2 separate regions of the Homo sapiens genome follow, and region 2 is linked to region 1. The links are contacts of gene promoters, found by promoter capture Hi-C in blood cells and fetal thymus (Javierre and others, 2016). All regions are on one chromosome and are shown on one strand. Each heading gives the region's core, a stretch centred on a gene start or on the middle of the fragment in contact. The rest is flanking DNA. Distances are from core to core; before and after follow the strand shown.

Region 1 (6,285 bases), core at 242-2,741:
GAAAATGAAAGCCATTAGGGGAGTTTTCAGTGAGGAAGAGAACAGAGGTACATAATAAAATAAAACAATTTAAAAGTTACATAGTTTAAACTGATAGAACTTGATTATCAATAAGATGAAAAAGAAAGGAAAATATACCAGATTTTACTCTATGATTTATAATCAGAGGAACTCAGAGGGAACATTGTTAGTGACAGAAATGGTGATGTAGCTGAAAAGACAAGTTTTTGGAGGAGATAATTCTTTCCTTCATCTCCTCCGATGTGAATGAGAAACAGTGGTTGGTTTTTTACCATCTTCCTGAAAATAAAAGGCTGTATCTCAAAAAACAAAAAACAAAAAACAAAAAAAAAAAGGAAGGAAGACAAATGCCCAGAAGTGTTAAGACACATGGCCAGCAGAGACTTTTCCAAAGTCCTTCACTTGGCTGGACTAGGTTCTAGGCCTTAGAGCTGACTGTGGGTGGATGACAGGGAAAGCAGAATGACACGGTTTGAGAAAAGAAAGGGCAGGCACACCAAGTCACTGCTCTGCTACTCAGTTGGAACATGCCTGGATTTCGTGCTTATTACATAGAGTATTTCCGTGCCTGCGATGCAATCACTATCACCTCTACCTCCACACACGTGAACCTGGTCTCCTGACTTTAGTTAGGAAAGAAGAGAACAATGCAACTCACAAGAGGAGAAGGATGAGGACAAGTGTTTAAAATAATTTTTCAAAGCTGTTGGCACATTTTCTTTATGATTATTGTCTGGTGAACCTAGTGAAAATAAATACTGTATTGAGATAATCTGTGCCGAGCGGATTTATTTCCTTTTGTTTTGTCGGAGAAAGGAGGACAGGTACTGAGTTGCACCCTGGTTTCCGTACTTCACGGTACTGTTTTATCTAAGTTTTAAAAAACACCTCAAATTCAACTAGCTGTGGCATTTTTCTCAGTGCTCTTATCACTATGCCCAATTTAAATTTTTTAAATAAAACAGGAAAAGATGCTAAACACATTACAAGTTCTTAAAATTATTCCTTAATATTTATTTTGGGTCAATTTAAAAAGGCTTGTGAATCCATAGCCTTGAGTTAATATTTAGCCCAGGTGTTAGTTAAATTCTAACTTCAACAGTCACCCGCACTTGTAAATCTTGCCCTACGATGGACTACGTTTCCCAAGAGCACCCCCCGAGTTAATCACATGAAGCGCATTCTGGGAATTGTAGTCTCGGATGAGCCTCTTTCTCCCAGTCTTGGACTCACGCGCTGATTCCGGTTGAACCCAGGGGCTACCAATTAGCTGGGGCCATGTCCGTGAGTCGTGGTCCAACCGAGAAAGCTGGTGTGGGAGCTTCGTACAATGATTGGCCAATGAATGACCCCCGGGGCGGAGCAATGGGGGTGGGCGGGGAGACCATGGTGATTGGACCAGAAGCCCGCGACGGCGGGCGGGGATTGGCTGCGCGCTGGGTCAGGGAAGCCTGGGAAGGGGCGGAGGAAGGAGACTAGAGCAGGAAGAGCAGCGGCGAGGCGGCGGTGGTGGCTGAGTCCGTGGTGGCAGAGGCGAAGGCGACAGCTCTAGGGGTTGGCACCGGCCCCGAGAGGAGGATGCGGGTCCGGATAGGGCTGACGCTGCTGCTGTGTGCGGTGCTGCTGAGCTTGGCCTCGGCGTCCTCGGGTCAGTATCCGCCCCCTCGGGCTGAAGGCCCAGAGCCTCCGCCCCCCAGCCTCTACAGCCGGCGGGGCCGTGGGGACTCCAGGCTCGGGACCCCGTTCTCCCTGGGCACATCTCGCACTGGGCTGTCACTCGCTCTTTGGCTTTGCTTGGCCTGCGCCAAAGGGGCTATTTAGGAAGGTGGAGTGGGGTGGAAAAAGAAGGGGCGGTCACCCTGCCCACACCTCTCTCCCACGTAACAAACTTTGCGCGACTCTTCTCACGAACGCGGAATTGACTCCAAAGGAATGAATCCTGATACAGGAGCCCGAGTGGAGCTTCCTCGACCCTGGGGTAGAGGAAGGGTCTGGTCTAGAACTCTGGGCTTGGGAATTGTAAGTTAAATAATTGACAAACCTGGAGCTGTCACTTTGGGGCAGAGGAGGATCCATCCAGACCAGGATGTTGACAGTAGTTTGCTTAACACCTGAGATGGTCCCTGGTCTGTCTGTTTAAAAACGAAGACTTTTGATCTCATCGTAGCCACTTTTTACTTTTTTGAAACCTTCCTGAGAAAGCGGTGACCTGTCACAGTGTTTCTGAGTTGCCCCATGTTTGTTGACAGTCATTTTATGATGTTTGGGAAAATCTTGGTTCTTATAAGATGCGTTTTATATAGATACAGAAATTTGTGTGCTTTTGAATTGATTTTCCAGTTAGCTAATGTTTATTCTGGTTCTGCTTTTTTCCCCCTTTTTTAATGTTTTAATCTGCCTACATTTGAAAATTTCCATTTTGAGAGTGTTCATGAAAACTTCGTGTTTCTAAGTGTTGATAAATAAAAATTAGTACAGTAAAACTTTGGAATTTTAATCAGTTTCAGTTAACAGGACAGGTGTTCTGTGGCTTGACGTTTTGGGGGGACAACACGGAGTATAAATGTCAGCTTTTTCTTTTTTTAATAAATGTCAGCTTTTTTTTAACAGAAAATTTCCCAGATGGTTATCTGAATCCCCAAATTACCTGTCCTAGTTGTAAATCAATGCCATAACGTCATTCTGCTTCTAAAATAAGAGGCTTAAACCTAAATTCTATCCATGATGTGGTTTGAGATACCATTTCAAAAGCACCAACCCTATGCTAATTACTTTACTGCCAACATCATTCTTTCAGGTCCACTCCCCTCCCTCCAGTAGTAGTGATGGTTTGAGTTAATGACCAGATCTTTAGACTATACTTAACTCTCGAAGCACTTTTAGCAGTTATTTAATATTTGATCAAAAAGCATGAAATGAAGCTGTTGAGCTTAATGAGTAGAGTACCTGCTGGACCATGGACCTCCTGCATCAGAATTCCTCTTATGGGTTTGTTAAACATTGGGTTTTAGGTCTGGAACAGCTCAGGTATACATAGATTAACAATCTCCATGAGGGATTCTTCACACTAAAGAGAACTACAGTAATGAAAGAGCACGGTGTGTATCCCTCTGAATTTAATTGGCAGAGTTTAAAGAAAATTAAAGCATAGGAATTGTGCTGTCTGTCTTTGACTGCATTTTATATACTTAGAGCTCCATGCCAGTGGAAAAGATATTTGAAGATCAACAGTTGGGGCTTTCAGGATGTTGTAATAAAAGACTTAACACTGATATATTAAATCCTTGGGTTGTATTGATGTAGGTAGAGGACTGTATTCAAGAAATGTCTGCTCTGATTTCCATCATAGTTAAAGCTGTGCCACAACATTTCAATGGTAAAGGCAGAAGCCTTAGCCAGAACTAAAACAATGTAGATGTGCATGCTAAAAGGTAATAAAGGCAGTGCTGTGCTCACATGAAGTTCATATATCATAAAACACCTGTGCGGGCCCAGCTCATACCTGTAATCCCAGCACTTTGGGAGGCTGAAGTGGAAGGATCACTTGAGCCCAGGAGTTCAAGACCAACCTGGGCAACATGGCGAAACCCCATCTCTACGTAACTCCAGGTGTGATGGTGCACACGTGTAGTTCCAGCTACTCGGGAGGCTGAGGTGGCAGGATGGAGTGAGCCCCAGGAGGTTGAGGCTGCACTGAGCTGTGATTATGCCACTGCACTCCAGCCTGGACAATAGAGCGAGACCCTGTCTCAAAAAAAAAGAAAAAAAAACAACCCTGTGTTAAATAAAGTTGTGTAAATTAAGCTATGGATTTTCAATTGTGATTTTCATTCACAGGGTTTCGGCCTCAAAGTTTAAAGTTTTACTCCAGTATTAAAATCAAGTTTTTGGTTATAATTTTGTGTTTGAACATTAGTGGTTACCCAGGGCAGGTCGCATCTCTCCAGGTGGAGTATGGTCAGCCAACAAAGAGAATCTTGATTCTATTGCTGTTGATAGCTGTTAGCTAGTATCATGTTTTAGAAGCATGTAAAAATATGATATAGTCACATGCTACATAATGACATTTTGGTCAACAATGAACCCCATGTAAGATGGTGGCCCTGTAAGAATATAATGGAGCTGAAAAATTCCTGTCACCTAGTGACATTGTAGCCATTGGAACATGGTAGCACACTTTTTAAAAAATAAATTTAGTGTAGTTTAAGTGTACAGTGTTTACAATAGTGTATAGTAACATCCTAGGCTTCACATTCACTCACTCACTCACCCACAGCAACTCTTAATCCTGCAAGTTCCATTTATGGTAAGTGCCCTAGACAGGTATATGTTTTGTAATCTTTTACACCATATTTTCACTGTAGCTTTTCTATGTTTAGCTATGTTTATGTACACAAATACTTACTGTTATGTTACAGTTGCCTACAGTAGTCTGTATAGTCACATGCTGTACAGATTTGTAGCTTAGGAACAACAGGCTACACTATGTAGCCCAGGTATGTAGAAGGCTATCCCATTTAGGTTTAAGTATACAAAAAGGAAATCGCCCAGTGATACACTTTTCAGAACATATCCTCGTCATTGACACATGGCTAATATTAGAAACATTTTCTCTTTTCTATTAATAAATTTAAAGGAGGACACTAAAAAGATATTTCTTCATTTTCTCAGGATAATAGTGAAAAGGTTATAATTTTTCTCACAAATGCATGCTTTCTTATTTTTGGCAGAAGAGGCAAATGGCTTAACCTTTTTTTTTCTTTGTGCCAAGCAGTGTTAGTCATTTTAGTTAGGTCCACTGCCAGGTATTTCAGGTAATAATTATAAATTCAGAGAGTAGTTTTCAGACAGCAGAGGATGTTTAATTTCACTGTTTTGGTCGTTCCTTAAAATATTGTGAGTCAGCGGGACAGAGGTGTTACCCCTTTTGACAGATTGAGAAACAGAGGCTGAGCAAGCTTTTGTTACTGAACCATGTGTCAGAATTAACATGTGATGAAGCCAGGTTCCAGACCTAGCTCTCCAGGTCTCAGAATTGAAGAAATTTAGAATCGAGAGTATCTTAGGATCTGTACCAATTTAGAGCTAAAGCAGAGAACAGGATATCTGGTCTGTTTTCACCAAACTATTTAGACTTTCTGTGTTTAAAGGTTATCAGTCTGTTTAATTTACGTGATGAATGGAAAAATGATTTTGTAGTGATCACTTTTCCCTGAAAGCATATCTCTGGTACTTTGCAGTTTTGTTAGCTAATACAATAAAAATAAAAACTGGTCCTTTTCAAAGGAAGGTGTACAGTTAATAAAATAATATGAACCATTTGGATGTGATGCTGATGAGCGAGAAGCGCATAACTTAATCCTTTTGCATTTTTTTCTTGTTGCTTGATATCTGTGTTCTGATGAAAACATTACTGTTTGCTTTTTATTTATGCATAACTTCAGTCTCTTTAATCCTTACCTGAATACTACTTATCAGAAGTTCCTAGGTTATAAACAACTCTTTAAAAAGTGTTGTGTGAATGTTTATATCAGTTTGAAAAAGAAAATAGCTTATGCTTTGAGACTACCATCTGGAGTAGGCTTTCCCAGTTTAGTAACTGAGAATTATCTTATTCACCAGTAATATTAGCATATAGTCCAGGTTGCGAAGAGAGAGGGAGAGAAAGAGAAGCATGATGCAATTCACATGAAATAACTCTGATGTTACAAATCATGTTTCTTGGAGTTTGAAAACACGTTTTGCTACTCTAATGCCTAACAGCTTGTGCTGTGTGAAATGTACATGTCTTTAAGTGTATTTACAGATGTGTCCATATGATTCACCTGTTAGCTACCTATGTAACCTGTTGTGGTGAGGTACTAAATGTAGCAATGTAGTGATAGTGATTTAGAGTTCCAGCTAATCTAAAGTTTCATTCAGTATTTGGGGGTATTTCATATATGTTTAAACATTTAATATCTGTTTTGATATATTAACTAGTTGAAGTTTGTGATTAATTACATATACTTACAGTACAACTTTGATATATTATAGAGATGGGTTTTTTAAATTTATCTAAAGATTTGCTGAGAATGGAATTTGAACCACATGTTAGAAATTGGGCTTTGGGTAATACTTGTGAAGAAGTTAGCATGAAGGACAATTGTTAATTAACTGACATCATTGCCTAATGTTATGGGCGCTGTGGGACTAATATGTGGCATACCCTTCTCTCCACCTGCCAGAAGTAAAACATACTTTGAAGGTAATCTAAAAGTAGGT
Region 2 (6,382 bases), core at 3,680-6,179, about 24 Mb after region 1:
CAGTATCTCCAACTGTTTAAATAATGTGTCAGTAAGAAGTCTGTTTTCCATAAATTAACTTTCCAGAAGAAACTATTTCAACAAAAGCAGAAATGAGTCAAAAAACTAATAAGTAATGTCCAATTTATAATTAATACATATTTTAAATTTGTGACTTTTTTAGTCTGTCATTCTGTAAATTGATTAAAAGGCCTTTTTTTAACTGTGGAGAAATCTTTTCAGCAAGATAATTCTAATCCATTTCATGCAAACCTAAACTAGGTCGGAAAAATCCTTTTGAAGGAATATGAAATTCAACAACCCACGCTAATTCATTTCTGGTTTATCACACATTCCAAAACTATTTTGGGTCAATAAACCTCTGAAATTGTTATTTCTAATTTTTTCCCTCACAATACATCAATCTTTTAAAAAAATTTTTTAAACAAAGACCTGAAGTATGCACAAAAATCGCCTCGACCAACTCTGAAAGCTTTTTCTGATTTGAAACTCACTTCAAATATATGTGCGTATATACAGACACGTATAAATACATACACATACATAAAATTATCACAGACCAAATGGTATATTTAAAAGGGCCAGAAAAAATTTTGGCCTGACCTCATAAGCCAGGCTCAGGTGAAATGAAAACCTGTATTAGATTGATGATACAAACCTCAGAATAGCTACACCTTATATAAAACTATCCAAAAATGAGGAAAAATTAAAACCATTAAACACAATACAACTGGACAGTACTTTCAATCTGAACAGGAATTTCAAACAAATCTTTGTCCTTTGAGCATGGAATAAGCAAACAAAATATTAAATTAGTTCATTCTTAAGACCTGATTTCTTCCTAATTTAGAATCTATAGGAGCAAAAATCAAGCTGTATACATCATCTAAAAAGCCCAATATATCATACACCATTACGATGACATTAGTAGTGAAGACCAATGCTGCATTTTTTTTTCCTGATAAACTACTCATGAATATGTGGTACATTTACAGGAATCACTAAATTGCTTGTCAATTTTTCCAAATAAAAGCTCTGCATATACATTTGGAATTCACGCTATTAAATGTATTTTTTCAAGGATGGGAACTGAAAAATCCCCGGCAAGATTAAGACTTAACACTACAAGGCCAAAGGGTTGTCAGTCTATAAAACTATGAAAAAAATAAAGTGAGAGATTCCCAAATTCTAGAACACTACAAATAGAAAACTGGAGGAAGCCAAAAAGTTAAATTTAGAACAAATAAATGGAAGTACTATGTTACATTTGCTGAGAGTAAGTTTAAGAACTTCAAAAAGATACCAACAACTGAAAATGTTACTATGAAAACAGGTAAAGATAAAATGGTTAAGTACAGAGTAACTGAAAGTGTCTCACATTTGTCCTTTTTTTTTTTTTTTTTTACATCTTTTACAATTAGGAAGAATCATAATAAGCTATCATTTTTATTAATCAAGTATTGGCAATTTTGTAAGGTTCAACCCCATATACTCCATTGACCCATTACAGGTTATCCACGGAAAACGGAACATTTTGGAGGTTTTTAATCTCTTGAGATTGATGTAAGGGCAACTGTCCCTTGGTGAAGATAACTTGGTGACACAATAATCTTCACTGAATGGATCAAGGGTATGTCATTTTTCAGGTTCTTGTTTGTTACCATAATGAGAGGCCAGGAGAACTGGGTTCTAGCTTTACCCTTCCGACGGTAAATATCTGGAGATTGAAACATTTTAAGTCACTTTGGTTCTTAACTTCTTTTCAATCAAAAAACAAAACAAAACCTACCCCTCTGTCAGTAAATATCTGGAGATTGAAACATTTTAAGTCACTTTGGTTCTTAACTTTTTTTCAATCAAAAAACAAAACAGAACAAAACCTAAGTTGGGCTAGATTATCTCTAGGATGGCTTTCAGTTCTAAAAGGATATGATTTAAAATAAACAGACATTTACGCATCTGTATTTTTAAAAAAATAGTTCCTATGGGAAACTTAAATTTAAAAGTATGCCAAGATAAAGGCTTCAGTTTTAAATGGCCTGGTTGTTTTTTTACTGTTTTATTATTGTTTAATACCTCCTGATTCATACTTGCACCAGTAAATCTTATAGGTCAACCACTTGTGCATATCGCAATTCTAGATACTCAGAATATTAAACAAACTTGAGCTACTAAAGGCTAACATACACATTAGCTGGTGAATTGGGAGGGTTCTACATAAAATCAAATCTAAAGTTTACTAATATTGTTGACCAGAGTCTAAAATAGCAAACAAGTTGAGAGAGGCTTAGGTAACTATCAGGACTCAAAGTTGACTAAATATCATATACACAACTATTTCCTGGAATTGACAGAAAAACATCTATTTCAACTTGAAATGTGACTCAATCATCTACTTCTGTGGGTTAACTTACAACTAAATCTACAATTTTTAGCAATTACAGTGGCATTTGATATGACATTTATAATAGTGCTATAAATCATTTTCTCATATTCATTGACACAGACATGTCTTAGAACTATTCTGATACAATGCTTAGAATACTGAAAGAGCAGTTTTCAAGAATATAAAGTAGTACCCACAGTTTTAACAAATGTACTGAATTGAAGTTTAAGCAAGTTAAGACAGAAAATAGAACTACCATTATCTACAATACCCAGGTTACATTTTCAAATTATCACCAAGCTAGAGAATCAAAAAGATAAGTATTGTCAAAATATCTTGCAGGGAATTACCAAGTGAAACTAAGCCAATGCTAAAACATTAAGTAATGGTGGCTTTTCCCTTCACATATTAAAAAATATTCCTTAAAAGGATGTCATCTTTCTGTAGTAAAATTCAACAGAAACAATATGCTTGTGAGCACATGATACAAAGCATACACCTGCAGTCAACGTTTAAGTTAAAGGGTTCATACAGACTGAAATGGGTCAATATTATTGTGAAGAAATTACTGGTACTGCCAATACTATGTTAATTTTTAAAAACCGTCCAAAAGTCTTTCACTTACGTGTAATATTATTGTCAATTATACTCTACACAAGCCAGTGTTACTAGTGTTTGGCCACATCTACAACCAGTTTCTTAAATTAAAAAAAAAAAAATCAGATCGGTAACAATTTCACACAAGTTTTCTACATTCCACAAAAGGGTATTTTGTTCAAGTTTCAGGAGTCTTTCAGCCACCAGAAGTGTTAGTAGCGCTTTCTGGAATGGAGTACCAGAAAGCAGGCTGGCTACAACTGTTAATTGTCCAGTTGAAGTAAAGAGAAACATCTCCATAATTACCGAAAATGCTTGTAAGATTTAATTCTCCAATATGACCACACCAAGTTTGCTGACATCCATGTTCACCACAACATGTTTATGCATACACTCTTCCCTGATTATGGTTGTAATCGAGAGACTAATAAGGCCTGTATCTGAACAGAACCATGTTCAAATTAAATGACTGTAAAGTGTTTGAGGATGCGGGCGGGTAATTAAAGACGGTTAAACACGATTATAATCTAATGTAAACAAGACACAAGACCCCCACCCCAGTGAAACACGCCACCATACAGGCTTGCTGCAGTTACACTAGTATCACGTTAACCCGAATCATGAAGTCTTACCTTCAAAACAATTTCATTAAATAACTAGGAATGTGTACAGCACTTGACATCATATAACGTACTATGATACGCAGCAGGAGATATCCACTGCCACATTCTGGGCCCTCACTCCCTGCCCCGCACAGTCTCGATCACTGCTGGGTTCACCCTCTTTTTATTCTATCCACTTACCAAGAAGCACAGCTGTGGCCAGTTGTGGATAAAATATCTATAGGTATAAATGGAGTAGGGTTCGGACAGATCTTTGGTGATCAGTCTCATGATATCGGGCATTTGTAGCTCGGATTCATATCGGACATATCGTATCGTCCGATCCTCCCCAGGCTCAACCTCCCTGCCCGAAGGGCTTCTTAAGCTGCAGTCGGCGGTCAGGGACGAAGACAGCAGCCGCACCTGCTCGTCTTCCTCCTCCTCCTCCTGCTCGGTGCCCTCGGCCAGTCCATTGCGGGCCGCCGCGGGATCGCTCGCCGCCGCTGCCTCCACCGGGCTGGGGACCGCAGTTCTTGCATTACTAGAGAGGGAGTGAGGGGGCCTCTCGCCCGAGTGTACCCCGGCTCCTTTTGTTGCAGTCGCTCTGGGGCCTCCGTCAGGGGTGGCTGTGGTCGCGGCCACCTCTGCTACGCTCAGGACCTTGCTCTTGAGGGAGGCGGCCGCCCGGAGGTGCCGCAGTTCGGGGCTAATCAATCCGTTGAGCTGCTGCTGCTCCTGCGGCGGCTGAGGGCAGCGGAGGCACGGATGCCCCTTGGCCGCCACCGTCGCCGACTCTCCGCCCGCCGGGCTCCTGCTGCCGCCGCCTTCGTGCTCTTCGTCGTCCTCCTCGTCCTCGCTGCAGCAGGCGAGGGCGGCCCCCGCCGGGAAGGGACAGCGGGGCTCGACCGCCGCCGGGGCCGGAGGTGCTGGTGGTGGGAGGAGGCTGCTAGGCCCAGGCGGTACCTCCGCCATCCTAGAAGCGACACAGACCGAGAGGGGAGGCCATGAAACCCGGCCGAGGAGCGCGGAGAACAGGGGGCGACGGATGGGGGGCGGCCGAGGTGGGGGGAACAAAGGCAGAAACCGTCCCTCACGGAGCTGCCCCCCAATTCCCCGCCACCCCCCCGCTCTTCAGCGCCGCCCAGCTGCTCAGCCGGCCACCGTCCCCGTCCGCCCGGGCCCACCCGCCAGCCCTGTCACTCGCGGCCCCTCCTCACGGCTCACCCCGCACGGGTCCCCGCCGCCGCTGCCGCCACTCCTCTTCCTCCGCCACCGCCGCCGCCTCCTTCGCAGCCGCGGCAGCCTCCACAGCCGCCAAGGTTCTCACTCAGCCGCCGTCGCCGTAAAGCGCCTCAGCTGTTAGGCCGGGTAAAGTTTCCTGGGCCTGGCTTTACGACACTTCCCTGCCTGCCGGCTGCCCGGGCCAAGAGAGAGGGGCGTGGAGGGAGGTGACCTGTGGAGGGGCGGGGACAAAGGTGTCTCCTGCGGGCTGCGGGGAAGGCCGCGTGCTAGTGGGTGGGGCTGTGGGGCCGGGAAGTTGCAGAGGGCTTTGGAGTCACAGGCTCCCAAACCCTCTTCCTCGGTTTGGGGGCGCCTCAACCTGCGGTGCTTGCCACGCGGGGCCGGGGAGGGATGGACCGGGCAGGCGCTCCCTGCTTAAAGTCTACCGCGCACTCCGAGCTGTAGCGAATCTCGCCAATTCGGGGCCTGTGGAACAAGCCGTTTACAAGTCACCTAAAAATGCCCTTTTAAAGCTGCACAGCGTTTAATGTTTGCCCTGACCAGGGGCAAGGAGGATGGGGGAGGAGCGATTAAAAATGGAGCAAATCAGAGAAGCCGACCGAAAAAGAAAGGAAGATTTGAGCTGTGAAAATATGGGGATGGCTGTCGAAACGTGGTGGTTTGCAGTGTGAATTAAGTTCAGCTGGCCCTTGCCACTTTGAGGCAAGGGAGTCAGCCCTCTTCCTCTCCCTCCTTACTCTGCTCCTCGCACCCAGTAAAATTGGAGGCAAAAGTGACTGACAGGTGTTGGGCAATTGCTAGCACACCTGGGGAAGGGTTAGAGAGAGGTGGTGAAAGAGAGTGACCAGGGCTAAGAAGCACACTCCTAAACTTGTGACACAAATAGGTTAGGAAGCACTGGTAAACAGGTGGCCTGATCCTCCCAGGGGATCTGCCTATCGAGTGCAAAGGGGATAGAACTTGAGCTTGTGGCTGGGCGCCTTCTGCTCTAGTCCACAATTGACTCCCGGCAGGTCTGAGCTGAGACAGGTAGTGTAACTCACCCGCTCACTGAACAAATTCGGTTTTGTTAAAAACCTGATTTATAGAGCTGGTCTGGTGTGCCGCAGATGGACGTTTTCAATATATAATTCTATGACGGAACACGTTTGCAACTTTTTGCCGTAATCTAAACTCTATGTATAAAGTATTTATTATGCTCGCAGATTCTGTGCCTCTGAAATCCAGACAGAGCACAACTGGGATGGCTTTTCTCTACTCCATTATGCGTAGAGCTTCAGTTGGAAGACTCTAAGGCTGAGGAGTAGAATTATTTGAAAACTTCACTTTCACCGCTGATGGTTGATGCAGGATAAAGGCTGGAGGCCTCAGTTCTAGTCCATGTAGACCTCTCCCGGTGGTCTTTTAGCATTGATTGGTTTGGGCTTTGTCACAGCCTGGTGGCTGGGTTCCACGGCAAGTATCGTGCGAGAAAGTCAATCAGAAGCATATTACCCATTATAACCTAGCCTTAGAAGTCATGTAGTCTCTAGCCAGGTGCGGTGCCTCACGCCTG

What was found. The method cuts DNA at HindIII sites, captures the fragments that hold promoters and counts their contacts. A CHiCAGO score of 5 or more calls a contact.
Region 2: the fragment with the promoter of NAA30 here is called in contact with the fragment with the promoter of SEL1L in region 1 in 1 of 17 cell types (total CD8 T cells); the score reaches 5.6 in total CD8 T cells.

What each region holds. Positions count from the first base shown.
Region 1 is chr14:81,529,059-81,535,343 of GRCh38, reverse strand. SEL1L (SEL1L adaptor subunit of SYVN1 ubiquitin ligase) reads left to right here and starts at 1,491. Exons shown (of 21, transcript NM_005065.6): 1 at 1,491-1,669. The coding sequence starts at 1,600. RefSeq lists a silencer at 1,368-1,487 and an enhancer at 1,204-1,703. The HindIII fragment of the contact is 11,079 bases long and covers 1-4,981 here.
Region 2 is chr14:57,389,133-57,395,514 of GRCh38, reverse strand. It overlaps NAA30 (N-alpha-acetyltransferase 30, NatC catalytic subunit), which reads right to left and starts at 4,929. Exons shown (of 5, transcript NM_001011713.3): 1 at 4,810-4,929; 2 at 3,787-4,558. The coding sequence starts at 4,557. RefSeq lists silencers at 4,402-4,551, 4,682-4,821 and an enhancer at 3,950-4,945. The HindIII fragment of the contact is 6,905 bases long and covers 475-6,382 here.